2 separate regions of the Homo sapiens genome follow, and region 1 is linked to region 2. Evidence: promoter capture Hi-C in 16 types of primary human blood cells and fetal thymus (Javierre and others, 2016). All regions are on one chromosome and are shown on one strand. Each heading gives the region's core, a stretch centred on a gene start or on the middle of the fragment in contact. The rest is flanking DNA. Distances are from core to core; before and after follow the strand shown. Region 1 overlaps GNA12 (G protein subunit alpha 12). Region 2 holds the start of AP5Z1 (adaptor related protein complex 5 subunit zeta 1).

Region 1 (2,700 bases), core at 17-2,516, 2.0 Mb after region 2:
AGGATCACTCCAGCCTAGGAGTTTGAGACCTGCCTGGGCAACATAGTGAGATCCCATCTTTATTAAAAAAAAAAAAAAAAAAGAAATTAGCTGGGGATAGGTGGCACGTGCCCGTGGTCCCAGCTACTCAGGAGGCTGAGGCAGGAGGATCACTTGAGCCCACTTCAGTTTGAGGCTGCAGTGAGCCATGATTGCACCACGGCCCCCTAACCTGGGCAACAGAGTGAGACCCTGTCTCAAAACCAAAATGATAAAAAATACTCAACCAATCAGAGGACACCAGCACAGCAGCCTTAGGAAGACTTCTAGAAAGTATAGGCAAGCCTCACTTTAGGTGCGTACCCTGTTCTCATGCCCCTGTAGTGTTGCTATAGGAAAGAAGGGTGCATAATTGGATTCACTTTAACCAAGACTCTAAAGCAACAGCTCAGCTGAGCTCCTTCTCTCTCCGTCTCCCTCGCTCTCTGCCAGCCATGGAGGCCACTGAGTGGGGATCTCAGTGCAGAGGTCCCGGCCTCGCCTGCCCAGGGAGCTTTCTTGTTCCAGGCGACAGGAAAAGCAGAGCCTGTGGGGGAGGCATTTTGTGCAGGGAAGGCACATTTAGAAGAAGCTTTGGTTTCCTGGACAAGCCCAGGCTTTCTCATTCTTACCAGGGATCTTCCTTAGATGCTTGTCCTTGGGAAGTGTAAATGTGTTCACTGCAGCTCTTTCTGCATATTTTAGACCTTAAAATAATTGTTTTTTGTTTCGAGCTAGCCTTAGATTACAGGACCATTGAGAATTGAGACACTGCTTGGGACATGGACTGGAGCTTCATCCTCAGCCATAGAGCAGCACTGCTGCCGGGGTTGAGGGAGCTCGGGGAGCTTTTCCAGACAAAACCTTTGCTCCAGGCGTTTGGCAGGGCCATAGGAAGAGCTCCTTTGTGGGCTCCCTGAGCTGGAACTCGGCCTTCTCCGCCCGATGAAGCAAACAAACTGTGCCGAGGGCGCACCGGCATTTGTGCCGTCAGCAAGCCGGGCTGTGTCTCAGCCTCACAGCACTCCTCCCACGGGCCTGGGAAGGCAAATGTGTTTTCTGAACTGTGTTGAGACCGTGTGTGTGTGTGTGTGTGTGTGTGTGTGTGTGTGTGTGTTGGGGTGTCTTGTGAAGTCCTGCTAACCTCTTGTCAGCAGAATATTCGAGAAATGCTTCTGAGAAGAGAGAGGAAGATGACTTCAGAGGCTGCTTGTGGTCTCTCACTCAAGGCTGGTAGGGAGCCCCGGTCTGCGTCCTGGAGGAACGGCACGCTGAGTCCTGGGCCAGTGGCCGGCGGGGCTGTTGGCGACCACAGTAGCACACAAGGGCTCTTTCTGAGGAGCAGGAGACCCTGGCACGGGCCCCACGGGAGTGTCTGGGGCGTCCCCGCCTGTGGCCTCTTCTCCCCGCCGCAGCACCAATGGCTCCACGAGCAGGGCTCGGAGCTGGCCCTCTCCTGCTTCGGAGCCGCGCTGACTGGGTGTGTGGCGGATGGGAGGCCGCCCTGAGTGCTCCTCCTCCCTTTTGTACAGCCTGGGTGGAAAGGACGGGCCTGGTGCACTTCCTGCGGGAGGGAGGACATGGGGCCTGCTTCCCTCTGGCGCTCCTCCACCCGGGCAGCGTGGTTTCTTTCCAAATGATTTATCCTCTCATCGTCCTGCCGCTCTGTGCTTCATGGCATTGGGGTCTTATCCGGAAGGGGATTGTCCTTTTTTGGGTTTGTAAATGTAATTTTCAGGAAATGTCATTGGATCTAACTCCAGAATAGAAGGCGTGGTGGAACTGCTTTTGTAGTCCACAGTTAGGCTACTCACACCTCAGGCCCCGCACACGGGTGGGTTCAGAGGCTGGACTTTGGAGTTAAGTAGCGTTTTTGCCCTTGGCCAAGTTAACGTCTAAGCTTTGGTTTCCTCAGTGAGGAAAGTGGGAACCGCCATACCGTGTCTGGATTCGGTGGGATCGTGTGTGTCCAGCAGCAGTCGCGCAGCGCCTGGCGTGAGTGGTGGGTGCACGCCGGCCCCGCCATGTGCACCTTCTGTGACGACCCTAAGTCAGGGTGGTGTTTCCTAGCAGTGCAGAACACGAAGCCCTTACAACTTCTCCTAGAAACGAAGCCTGGGTTGACCCCTCCACCTCAGGGTGAGAGCTTTTGGTATTTTGAGTCAGTATTTTTGGCATGTCTTGTTTTCACAGGTTTCTCTGCCGCTTTCGCTTTTTTCTGGAGGGGCTGGAGGTAGGGACAGTAATGAAGGTAAGGAATGCGGATGGAGCCGCAGTTCTCTGCGAGTGTTCTGTGTGAGTGCTGGGAGGCCTCGGTGAGGTTAGGCTGTGGTGCTGGGTGGACTGGTGGGCGGCTGGACACTCCACATTTTTCCCTTACATTTGGACATTCCGTGGATACGACAGATGGGAAAACTGGACCAGCTGGAAGCCGAATTTTACGTTGTGACCTAAAGAGCTGTTAGGTACTCAGCACTATCCAGGGTATGAAAGCAGCATTAGTTGGTCATCTCTTCACGTTTTAATGAACGTGAAGTGCCGATGCTCTTTTCATTTTCCAGTGGCCCATCTTGTCAACTCTTCATTGTTTTTTAAGCAAATTCAAGGATTCGGTCAAAGGAGAACCAATAGCTGCAAATTGTAAATCCTGTGAAATTGTCTTTGGGTTCCGTCCTGAGAGGC
Region 2 (2,700 bases), core at 27-2,526:
CCCAGACTGGAGTCCAGTGGTGCGATCTTGGCTCACTGCACCCTCGGCCTCCTGGGTTCATGCACTTCTCCTGCTTCGGCCTCTCACCTCACCAAGTTTGTTTACGTTTACCAAGGGGCTGTAGTGCTGGCTGTATTTTCTTTACTTTTTTTCTTTTTTCTTTTGAGACGGAGTTTCGCTCTGTCCCCCAGCCTGGAGTGCAGTGGCGCCATCTCAGCTCACTGTAACCTCCACCTCACAGGTTCAAGCAATCCTCCTGCCTCAGCCTCCCGAGTAGCTGGGATTACAGTCACCCACCACCACGCCCGGCTAATTTTTTTTTTTTTTTTTTTTTTTGTATTTTCAGTAGAGACGTGGTTTCCTCATGTTGGGCACGCTGGTCTCGAACTCCTGACCTCAGGTGATCCGCCTGCCTTGGCCTCCCAAAGTGGTGGGATTACAGGCGTGAGCCACCACGCCCGGTCAGCATTTTCTTCTTTTAAACATGTAGTATGAAGTCTTTGCCTGTTTGGTGGACCGTGAGTCTGTTCAGTCCTGGCTTACACTGTTTTCCCCCATGACTGGTTAGTTGGTGAGGAAGGAGCTACTCACTCGTTACTGGGAGTCCAGACACAGCCTGAAACCAGCCTGGAGGGTGATTTCTCAGCCTAGCTAATACATCCGCGCAAGAGAGATCTTTTTAAGTCACAAAACCCTCCCACGGTTCCGCAAAGCCCTCGGATGGCCTCCAGCTCCCCAGCCTGGCACACAGCCTTATTCCTTAGCAGGCCTCCGGACACTGTGACTTTGCGTTCTTGACTGTGAGGCACTGAAATCTCCCGGCTGCCCGATTTCCTGCCAGACGCGGAGTTCTCACCGCCAAGCCTTTGACTAAACTGTCGACTGGGTCCCACCCCACTTGCTTTCACTCACCAAGACTCTGCTCAAGTGTCACCTCCTCCGGGGACCCACCATGACCCTCCCCGACCTCCTCACCCCAAGCCTGGCCGCCGTGTTGCCTTACCCGATCCCCAAGTCTCGAGGGCGAGTCCAGTCGGGTTCCTGCAAGGCTGGCGCCCAAGCCCCTGCCCTGTGAGACCCACCCCCGTGTGCCCCTAGGGAGAGATGCAGGAAGGAGGGCCGGGGCCGCAGCTCCCCCGTACCTGGCCTGGTGGAGCAAACTCTCCGCTCCTGCCGAGAACATCACGCCGCCGCCACCAGACGCGCACGAACCTCGGAAACTCCAGGAGCTGCAGCCCAGGAGCTCCGCACCCCGGTCAACTTCCGGGACCGCGTCACGTGAGCGCAGCGGCCTTACGTGGCTGCGTCACGTGCCGCATCACATGAGCAGGAGGGACAGGTTGCCGACCAATGGGCTTTGGCGTGGAGCGACTGGGGCGGGGCGTAGGTGCCGCGGCCGGGGGTCCGGGTCGGCGCCTGGGAGCTGCGGAATCGCGCGACCCCGGAACCTCGGCACTCTGGAGCCCCGGCGCCCTTCGACCCCGGAAAGCATTTCGGCGGAAATTGGGCGCCTGGGGCTTTGGGAGAGGGCATTGCTGGCCCCAAAGTGTCACTGCCCCAGTTCTGGTTTCTGTTTCGTAAACAGCTTTGTCGTGCGGGAGTCCCTTTGCTAAGTACGACCTGAAAATCTGATGCAAACTCCGACACTTGTGGGCTGAGCCCAGCAGTGTCCAGCAGTTTGCAAGGAATAGCCGCGGCTCTGGGCAGTTTTGGGGATTTTTTGAGCTCCCATTTATTGAGCACCCATCCCGCGCTGTTCCTGCTGCTTGAAACGAAAAAATCCCTTATTCAATCCCCACGGTATTCATGGGATCTCGCGATCTCTGTTTTACAGATGAGGCCACAGGCTCGGAGAGGGGAAGTTTCTGTTCATTCTAACGGATGTGTTGGGTGCCCAAATGTGCTGGGCCCTGGCCATAAGTTTGCCATCCTGCAGACGGCCGAGGGACACAGGGCGACACGCCAGCGTCATGATAAACGCTATGACAGCCTGACCTGGTTGGGGGTCCAACCGGAGGAGGAAGGCTTCGGCGACTGCGGCCTAAGATGAGCCCAGAGGGTGTCCAGACCAAGGGGTGGGGAGGGACGGGCCTAGGGTAGCGATCTGCTTCCTATGGCTTAAATGCACCCCAGGAGGAAACTGATCTCTGGCCGCAGGGGAGATAATGGATTGGGAAGCTCCTGAGGGAGAAAGGAGGCTGGTGCAGTTGTGGTCCAGGTAAGGGAGGTTGCCCCGAAAGTAGGCAGATTCAGTACCATTTAGAGGTAGGATTTGCACCACCTGTGATTGAGGAATTTGCAGGCAGGAGGAAGAAAGTGGAAAAATCAAGGGTAACTTCATGTTTGTGGGGTGTCTGTCTGGGGCAGAAAAGGACGAGGAAATTTGTGCCAAGAGTCATTCATTAAGTGGACAAGCGATGATTGAGTCCTAGCTGCGCTAGGCACTGCTGAAGGTTCTGGGGAATAGGGTAGGGGTGGGAATCAATGTTGCGTAGATAGGGTGGGTCAAGGTTAGGCCTTGAAGGGATAAGCCCCGAGAAGACCCCTGGATGGAAGGAAGGAGGAGGAGGAGGGAGGGCTTCCTGCAGGAGTTCCAAACATGGCTTTGAGATGCCCTAGGGCGCCCAGTGATGTCTGAGGGCACCTGGTGCAGAGAATGAAGAGATGGGAATCGGTGGATGGTGAGCGGTGGATGGGAGT

What was found. Contacts are between HindIII fragments. The CHiCAGO score rates a contact against its expected background, and 5 or more counts as called.
Region 1: a contact is called between a fragment that was not itself captured here and the fragment with the promoter of AP5Z1 in region 2, in 1 of 17 cell types (M0 macrophages). The highest score is 5.7, in M0 macrophages.

Annotation. Positions count from the first base shown.
Region 1 is chr7:2,761,627-2,764,326 of GRCh38, reverse strand. All of the region lies in intron 2 of GNA12 (G protein subunit alpha 12), which reads left to right. It also overlaps a transcript of AMZ1 not described here. Among named protein-coding and RNA genes, the nearest start is that of AMZ1, 75 kb to the right of the region's middle. RefSeq lists enhancers at 708-1,236, 1,767-2,296. The HindIII fragment of the contact is 1,308 bases long and covers 613-1,920 here.
Region 2 is chr7:4,774,199-4,776,898 of GRCh38, reverse strand. It overlaps AP5Z1 (adaptor related protein complex 5 subunit zeta 1), which reads right to left and starts at 1,276. Exons shown (of 17, transcript NM_014855.3): 1 at 1,143-1,276. The coding sequence starts at 1,183. RefSeq lists enhancers at 598-707, 728-787, 1,128-1,197, 1,628-1,717, 1,758-1,807 and 2 more and a silencer at 1,318-1,447. The HindIII fragment of the contact is 11,700 bases long and covers 1-2,700 here.